Linked DNA regions of Homo sapiens: region 2 is linked to region 1. Evidence: promoter capture Hi-C in human tissues and cell types (Jung and others, 2019). All regions are on one chromosome and are shown on one strand. Each heading gives the region's core, a stretch centred on a gene start or on the middle of the fragment in contact. The rest is flanking DNA. Distances are from core to core; before and after follow the strand shown. Region 1 holds the start of PNLDC1 (PARN like ribonuclease domain containing exonuclease 1). Region 2 has its middle 37 kb from the start of MAS1.

Region 1 (4,858 bases), core at 794-3,293:
TGTTGCAGTGGAATATTATTTGTAGTTAAGGTCATCCTCCTCCCCTTTCTGTTTTTTTAAATCAAGAACTACGTTCTGCCCCTCTCTTGGGCTTCAGAAGCATCTAAGAAAAGCAGTCATCAATTATAATTAACTTTCAAAGGGCAAGTCAGAAGTTGTTTATAAATTACAAAATAAAGGCATATTATGAACTCTTATTTTCTGGTTATATGACATTGTCTGAGCTCACTGTGGCAGTGGAGCACATATGAGGTTGATGTAAAGCACTTATTACTGTGTCTAGTTCATGGCGAGTGATCTCAGTGAATGACAGTTGTTTGCTGCTCGGAGTGTGGGTTGTTTTTTAAAATAGGAAATGTCAGTATCAATCTAATACTATAGAACAGTCAGTATGTGAAAATGAAAGGACCAAATGCCAACCTCACTTGGACTCTTGGTTCCCAACAGTAAGAGAAACAAATTTGAAAGAGGAAGGAGGTGGCATCAGGAGCTGAAAGCAGAGGTGGAAATGGTTGGGGTTAGTGGGCGCTCAATTTGCCATGAAGTGAACATTTTATTAGATAGGAGATGAAACTTGAAATGCATGCAAGTTAATCTAAAATTTGAGCTTGGGTAGATGGGAATCATGGCAGTTCTCTGAAAGGAGCTGATTAAGGTGTTAATTTTTGGCTATTTGATAAATGTGAGAAAAAACCTGTAGGCAGTTAAGGTGGCTTCTAGAGCATTGTTTTCCAGTTTTTTTAATGTATACCCCAATTAAATGTTTGTTTAGAAGTGAAATATGTTACTTCTGCCAATTTGAGTATTCAATGTGTTATTTTAAATGGAACACATCTGTATGAAGTATGATTTGTTCTGAGAGGTCTTCAGAATCAAATGGCTTAATAGTCCCCTTTTGCTTAATTAATGTCCCGGAGAGGCATTTAAAAGTATAATTGAAGATCGGATGCAGTGCCTCACACCTCTAATCCCACCACTTTAGGAGGCTGAAGCAGGTGGATCACTTGAGGCCAGGAATTCGAGACCAGCCTGGCCAATACGGTTTAACCCTATCTCTACTAAAAACAAAAATGAGTTGGGCGTGGTGGTGCATGCCTGTAATCCCAGCTGTTCAGAGGCTGAGGCGGGAGAATCGCTTGAACTCAGGAGGTGGAGATTGCAGAGAGCCGAGATGGCACCACTGCACTCCAGCCTGGGTGACAGAGTGAGACTGTCTCAAAAGGAAAAAATAAAGTATAACGGTAATGTTTTCTCCGCTAACCTTAAAGATTGATTTGAGCACCTCACTTTGAGGACCATAGTTCCAAAACGCTGTTCAAGTAGAAGCCTAGAATTCAAGGGAGGACACTGTAAGGAAGACCATGGACTAGTTGCACTGGAAACAGTAACAAAAGTAAAAATTAAGCTCACATGTATGTGATGATGTAGGTAGGGATTTCCGCAAGGAGTGAGTGCACGAGATAATCCCTGGGGACCAAGGATTCCTTCAATTTAATGGGCAGTTCTTGAGGCTTTGCAAAGTTTGATTGCAGGTGTGAAGACAGTGGTAAGGTGGACAGCAGAATGAGGAAAAAGATGTCCAGGGGCGTGGGAGAGGGAATGGGGACAGACATACTGGCAGTGATGGAGAAGTTGGGAAGAGGTGATTTAGAAGACCGTGAGCCGCAGCAAAGGATCTGCTTATTGCAGTTGCGTCCGGTGTTGTTCCTGCTCCGCTTTTCTGATTTCACCCTTTCTGGACTCTGTCTTCGTCTCCTGCCACGCCTCTTAACATTCTAAGTCCATGTAAATGACATTCTCACGTTAAGGGCTGCAAAGAAATTGCTGAGGAGCCAGGTAAACAGGCTTTGATTGCAATTGCAATCAAACCTCTGTAGCAAATCGTACAATTAAAACACCCGCAGGCAGGTGTGGGCGACGCCAGCAGCACACGGGGAAGCTGGGCACGTGGGGCGGAGGCAGCTGCCTGGTTTCCATGTGTGCGCCCTTTAAGACCCGGCGGCGCGACGGAAGCGCGTGGGCAGCACGTGGGCAGCACGTGATAGCGCTGGGCGACTCCGCGGAGCTGCACGGCCATGGACGTGGGCGCCGACGAGTTCGAGGAGAGCCTCCCTCTGCTGCAGGAGCTCGTCCAGGAGGCCGACTTCGTGGGTGAAGAGCCTGGGATTCGCGGCTGTGCCGGACAGAGCCCCTTGCCCCGGGCGAGCTTGAGGAGGGGGTGGCGGGACGGTTGCCAGGCCACAGGGCCTCAGAGAGGGCCTCGGGAAGGACAGGGGGGCTTCCTTCTCCAGCCCCGGGGCGGTGGGACTTTGAGCAGCAAGTACACTCCGAGCCCCACGTCCCTTGTTGGCCAGAGCCCCGTGCGCCCAGGTGCCTGGCTGCTCCTTGCCTTGGTTCCTCCATTTTCCCTTCCTGACCTCACTTGGCTTCTTGAGCGCAGAGGTGAGCGCGGGTGCCTTGGCCGCCTGCAGATCTACAGTGTGAGGAGTGCTGGCGATGTTCTGCACCCGAGGACTGCTATTTTTTGCCTTCCTGGCAGGTCTGGACATAGAGTTCACGGGCCTTCGTTCTAACCTGTCTGGGCCCCAGCAGATCAGGTAAAACTAAAGCTGTGTCCCCTCTGTATAAGAGCCTGGCCAGACCAGCACTGTTTCTGGCCAGCAGCCTGTTGGCATTTGGGGGGCAGGACGTTTTGTGTGGCTTGCTCCTACGTGTTGGAGGACCTTGCTTTTTTCTGTCCACTAAATGATGGTAGTGCTCCCTAGTTGTTGTAACAAGGAAAAAATCCTCCCCGGTTGCGAGTGGTGGTCCTGCCGCGGAGGCCATAGTGCCGGGATGGGATGTCATTGCTCGTGGAATGAGATGCCTGTTTGTTCACAGTCTTTTTGATTTGCCATCGGAGTGGTATCTAAAGACCCGTCAGAGTGTTCAGCAATTTACAGTCTGTCAGATTGGTGAGTTTAATATCAGCTGTTAGAGTTTTTCAAGAAGGTATTTTTATTGTCCTTGGATTTCCTACTGTAAAAACAGCTCTGAGATTTTTCAAGGATATTGAGTATCGTTTTGTATGCTTGTTTTGTGTTGGGCCATTGTATACATATGGAAATCAACACTTCGGAGCAAACCAAATTTAGCAGCATTGTTTCCGTGCTTAAATAAGTCAGTATTAAGGAACACTCACTGTTACTCTTTCAAGTAAAACTGTGTGTGTGCGATTTTTATTTTATTTTTTGAGACAGGGTCTTGCTCTGTCACCAAGACTGGAGTGCAGTAGCATAGTCTTAGCTCACTGCAGCCTAGACTTCCTGGGCTCAAGTGATACTAGCACGTCAGCCTCCTGAGTAAACTGGGACTACAGGCTCACCACCACACCTAGCTAATTTTTAAATTTTTTGTTCAGATGGGTTTTCGTCATGTTGGCCAGGCTGTTCTTGACTTCCTGGGCTCGAGCAATCTTTCTGCCTCTGCCTCTCAAAGTGATGGAATTATAAGCGTGAGCAACCACACCTGGCCTGTGATTTTTTTTTCTTAAGAAAATTTACACACAAAAATAATTTTTTTTAAGGTCATCTCAGTTTCAGAAACTTTTTTTTTTTCCTTGATGGGATTTGGAGATCTTTCTGTATCGGTTCATACAGATCTATTTGTTGATTTAGTTATTAGTTTATTTTCTGAGATGGAGTCTCGCTCTGTTGCCCAGGCTGGAGTGCAGTAGCGCGATGTGGGCTCACCGCAACCTCCACCACCCAGGTTCGGGTGATTCTCCTGCCTCAGCCTCCAGAGCAGCTGGGATTACAGGCAATTGCCACCAGGCCTGGCTAATTTTTGTATTTTTAGTAGCGATGGGGTTTCACCATGTTGGCCAGGCTGGTCAAGACAGAGCTGTTAACGGTTGCGTAATGCTGTTTCTTTTACAGCTACTCAATCCTGCTTTTGTAATGTGAAATTAGCTGTAGAGAATACATGAACAAATGAGCATGGCTCCATTCCAGTAAAATGTTATTGTATTTACAGAAACAGACCCTGGGCCAGATTTTACTTTTCTGGGTTTGTCTGTGCCCTCTCCCGCACCATTGGGTTTTTGCTGTGTTGCCCAGGCTGGGCTCAAACTTTTGGGCTCTGGAGATCCTCCAGTCTCAGCTTCTGAAGTAGCTGGGAGTGCTGCCACGCCCAGCCCCTGCTTTTACTATGAATGATGCTGAACGTGTGTGTGTTTTCCTCTCTATCCTGATCCTTTGCTACTTTTCTGTTATGGTTTTTTTTTTGTTCGTTTGTTTGTTTTTAATTATAAGACCTCTTTGAGAAGTATAGGAAACAGTTGTAGTTATGTTTCCATTGTTGTACCCAAATTTGTTTGGGGGGAAGGGGGACAGAGTCTTGCTCTGTTGCCCAGGCTGGAGTGCAGGGGCACGATCTTGGCTCCCTGCAACACCCTTGCCTCCCAGGCCCAAGCAATTCTCCTGCCTCAGCCTCCTGAGTAGCTGGGATTACAGGTGCGCGCCACCACACCTAGCTAATTTTTGTATTTTTAGTAGAGACAGGGTTTCACCATGTTGGTCAGGCTGGTCTCGAATTCCTGACCTCAAGTGATCCACCTGCCTAGGTCTCCCAAAGTGTTGGGATTACAGGCATAAGCCACCGCACCTGGCCTGAAGTCTTTTTTTTTTTTAACTTTGCATATGGTTTTCTTTGAGGGGGGAGGAATAGACATTTTAAATGAGTTAAATATATAAATCTTAATGGTTTTTGGTATTTTCTGTGGATAGTTTTAAAACTATGAGAATGTCATTTTAATATTTACTTCTGTATTTGAAGAACAGGCCACAATTAGATTTTAGCAAATTCAGTGTGAATTACA
Region 2 (4,914 bases), core at 2,183-4,682, 130 kb after region 1:
TTTCTTTCCATGATTCAAACAAATGTTTAAGATATTTTTAAAGGTACAGTTTTAACCTTTTGGTTAATTTACATTGTATTTTGGCAACAGAAAGGGTTATATAATAGTGCAGCCTCCATCTACCAAAAAGAGATCTGAGGGGAAAAAAAAACCTCACTATTTAAATTTAGAAATCTTGAATGTTTGGTTAAGAAGGAACTGTTTTCCCTTTTGACATTTTTTACAGGCTTTATTGAAACTGGAGCTTTATATTCTTTTTTTAAAAAGAAACAACAATAAATATAGTACAGTACTTTCCATAACACATTATTTCAGTGGCTTAAGGTCAGCTGGAAGAAAAATGCAGTTCTCCACAGTGTGTGGCTTTAAAGTGGTCATTATAATTCTCTACTTTATTCTCCAAATTAGTGCAAACATTTATTGATCACCTCCTGCATGCCATGCACCATGCTAATCATAAATTATGCGATCCTGGTTCAGAGATCTTTGATTTCTTACCACGCTGGAGTGTTAGCCATACAGGACTGCTTTGTGCTAGGCAAGCCAGCAAGTCAGGGGCTCAAAAACAAAGCAGAATAAGAAAAATTTCAACAAAACATTCATTTTCAATAAACTCATTTAGCATTTTGCATCCAGAAGGATCTAGAAATTATTTTTACTTTCAGCATACATATAAGTTTTGAGTTGTACGGTTTGATATTGTTCTCATTTGAAGTTCATAGTGGGTGTCATAATCTTTTCAGTACTTGGGAACCACTAAAGTTCTCAAAGTAGTTTGCGTTTTAAGCTCTGACTTTGCCAAGTTGATTGAGAGAAGCTTCAGTGGAAGAAAGGATACTTAATTCACCCAGCCTGCTTCTCCTTTCCTAGTGCACCCTCTACCAGAATTCCTGAGCTAGGGAAAAGAAATGCAATGAGCTTGGAGACAGATTTTTTTTTTTTTTTTTTTTTTTTTTTTTGAGACAGAGTCTTGCTCTGTTGCCCAGGCTGGAGTGCAGTGGTGCGATCTTGGCTCACTGCAACCTCTGCCTCCTGGGTTCAAGTGATTCTCATGCCTCAGCCTCCCAAGTAGCTGGGACTACAGGCGCCTGCCACTGTGCCTGGCTAATTTTAGTATTTTTAGTAGAGATGAAGTTTTGCTCTGTTGGCCAGGCTAGTGTCAAACTCCTGACCTCAAGTGATCCACTCACCTCAGCCTCCCACAGTTCTGGGCATGTGAGCCACTGCGCCCAGCCCCTTGGGGAGAGATTTGATGCAGAGGACATGGTGATTTGAAAGTGATCATTTTTTCCCCAAGAGTTTGGACAGGAACAGAAAGGGTCAAAAGAAAGTTCTTTAATGATACAATGAGGACTGCTGTGGTCAGCTTGAAGGTTTCAAGGCAAATCAGGAAGAGGCAGCCCTGTACAATAAGCTTTACTGGGTGATGCTTGAGTGGGGCTGCCTGAGAAGAGGGGGCTCCCTCGCAGCAGGAGACCCTCCCAGAAGGAGAAGAGGGCAAGGGAACTCCAGGGCCAGAGAGAGTCAAAGAAGGGCCTTATGTGTCTAGGTGACGTCACTCAGCAACAAGGTGGGGAATGTCTGGGTCAGAGACTTCCAAAGGGCCAAAGTAGTTTGAGATCTGTGATGGTTAATTTCACATCAGCTTGACTAGGTATTGATATGCTCAGAAATGTGGTTAAATGTTATTCTGTTTTATCTGTGAAGGCATTTCTGGATGAGATCAATATTTGAATTGTAAGACCAAGTCAAGCAAACTGCCTTCCCCAGCGTGGATGGATCTCATCCAATCTGCTGGAGGTCTGAGCAGAACAAAAAAGGCTGAGTAAGGGAGAATTCACTGGCTCGGCCTGACCATCTTTGCGCCAGGACAGGGGTCTTCTCTTGCCTTTAGACCTGGACTGAAACTTACACCATGGGCTCTCCTGGATCTCCAGCTTGCCAACTACAGGTCCTGGGACCTCTCATCCTCTGTAATTGCATGAGGCAATTCCTTATAAATCTCTCTCCCTCTGTGTGTGTGTATATACATAGAGAGAGAACACATTTGCTGGGCATGGTGGCTCATGCCTGTAATCCCAGCACTTTGGGAGGCCGAGGTGGGTGGATCATTTGAGGTCAGGAGTTCAAGACCAGCCTGGCCAACATGGTGAAATGCCATCTCTACTAAAAATACAAAAATTAGCCAGGTGTGGTGGTGTGTATCTGTAATCCCAGCTACTCGGGAGGCTGAGGCAGGAGAATTGCTTGAACCCAGGAGGTGGAGGTTGCAGTGAGCCAAGATCATGCCACTGCACACTAGCCTGGGTGACAGAGCGAGACTCTGTCTCTTAAAAAAAATATATTTATATGTGTTATATATGTTATATAATTTATAATATAAATTATAACATATATTTATATATGTTGTATGTTATATTATTATATATAACATATATAAATATATATTATATATAACATATATAAATATATATTATATATAACATATATAAATATATATTATATATAACATATATAAATATATATTATATATAACATATATAAATATATATTATATATAACATATATAAATATATATTATATGTAACATATATAAATATATATTATATGTAACATATATAAATATATATTATATGTAACATATATAAATATATATTATATGTAACATATATAAATATATATTATATGTAACATATATAAATATATATTATATGTAACATATATAAATATATATTATATGTAACATATATAAATATATATTATATGTAACATATATAAATATATATTATATGTAACATATATAAAATATATTATATGTAACATATATAAATATATATTATATAACATATATAAATATTATATATTATATAACATATATAAATATTATATATTATATATAACATATATAAATATTATATATTATATATAACTTATAAATATTATATATTATATATAACATATAAATATTATATATTATATATAACATATAAATATTATATATTATATATAACATATAAATATTATATATTATATATAACATATAAATATTATATATATAACATATATAAATATTATATATATAACATATATAAATATTATATATATAACATATATAAATATTATATATATAACATATATAAATATTATATATATAACATATATAAATATTATATATATATAACATATATAAATATTATATATATAACATATATAAATATTATATATATAACATATATAAATATATATAAATATATGTTATATAACATATATTGTGTGAGTACACATACAGAATATATATAGTGTGTGTATATATGTATAGATACCTGTGTATATAATATATTAGAATATGTGCAGTTATCCACTGCATAATGACATTTTGGTCAATGATGGACCTCATATATGATGGTGATTTCTTAAGATTATAATGGAGCTGAAAAATCGCTATTGCTTGGTGACATCATTGCTTCTGTAATGTTGTAATGCAACACTTGATTCATGTGTTTGTGGTGCTGCTTGTGTGTACAAGCCTACTGAGCTGCAATCATATAATAGTATAGCATATACAGTTATGTAGAGTACACAATACTTGATAATGATAATAAGCAACTATGTTACTGGTTTATGTATTTACCATACTATACTTTTTATTGTTATTTTAGAGTGTGCACCTATTTATTAAAAAATTAACTATAACACAGCCTCAGGCAGGCCCTTCAGGAGGCATCCAGAAGAAGGCATTGTGACCATAGGAGACGACAGCTCCATGTATGTTATTGCCCCTGAGGACCTCCCAGTGGGACAAGATGTGGAGTTGGAAGACAGTGATATGGATGATCCTGAACCTACATGGGCCTAGGCTAATGTGTGTGTCTGTGTCTTAGTCTTTAATAAAAAGTGAAAAAAAAATTTTAATAGAAAAAAGCTTATAGAATAGGGATATAAAGAAAGTATTTTGTATAGCTGTACAGTATGTTTGTGTTTTAAGCTGAATATTATTACAGGAGAGCCAAAAAGTTACAAAAAAATTAAAAAGTTTATTAAGTGAATAAGTTACAGTAAAGTAAGGTTAATTTATTATTGAAGAAATAAATGTAGTGTTCCCTAAGTGTACAGTGCTCATAAAGTCTATCATAGTGTGCGGTACAGTCCTAGGCCTTCACATTCACTCACCACTCACTCACTGACATCAGAGCAACTTCTAGTCCTGCAGGCTTCATTCGTGGTAAGTGCCCTGTACAGGTGTACCACTTAAATAACTTTTAAAATACCCTTCACTCTGATGTTTGCATAATGACAAAATCGCCTAATGACATAGCCCTGTAGTTAAGTGACACATGACTGTATATACATTCTATCATGTATGTACATATATGACATTATGTTAATATAAAGACTAATACAGCGTAGTTCATAGGAACAAGGTTCATCTTACCTGTGGCTTAGCAGATGTTGGGCACAGTTTTGTGGGCTATGTAAAGTAGGTAGGCTCCAAATTGCCAAAAATAGATTTCTCTGGACTATATTTAAAGCAATCAATGTGGAAGAATTTGAGTTTGGTGCCAGTGGGCTTTGAGCTAGTGGTCTAGCCTGCTGTGAAGGCCTAAACAACATTGTAGGCCAACACACGAGGCCACGTCTGGCTCATTTATATAACTGCTATGGAGGAAAAAGAGGAGAGTCTTTCATCAGTAAACATCTCAGTAGCTAATGGTGCTTTCCCTAATTCTGGGGTTCTTTCTATTACGAGGTGGCAATGAGCTTGCGGTTGTATGTTTGCTGTAAACTCTTTGTCACCCTTGCTTGTCTACACCACACCAGGCTGGAGAGGGAAGCGAGGGCTCAGGTAACGGTGGCAGCAGTTATAAAAATAGCTGAATCCTCTCGGCCACCATCCCCGTTCTGGATTTTCCCTGG

What was found. Contacts are between HindIII fragments. The study calls those that stand out against the background at their distance.
Region 2: a fragment that was not itself captured here is called in contact with the fragment with the promoter of PNLDC1 in region 1 in 1 of the 25 tissues and cell types used here (aorta).

What each region holds. Positions count from the first base shown.
Region 1 is chr6:159,798,233-159,803,090 of GRCh38, forward strand. PNLDC1 (PARN like ribonuclease domain containing exonuclease 1) reads left to right here and starts at 2,044. Exons shown (of 19, transcript NM_001271862.2): 1 at 2,044-2,151; 2 at 2,540-2,597; 3 at 2,881-2,954. The coding sequence starts at 2,076. It overlaps MRPL18 (mitochondrial ribosomal protein L18), which reads left to right. Exons shown (of 4, transcript NM_014161.5): 4 at 1-197. The HindIII fragment of the contact is 11,703 bases long and covers 1-4,858 here.
Region 2 is chr6:159,925,177-159,930,090 of GRCh38, forward strand. No RefSeq gene overlaps it. Among named protein-coding and RNA genes, the nearest start is that of MAS1, 37 kb to the left of the region's middle. The HindIII fragment of the contact is 6,602 bases long and covers 132-4,914 here.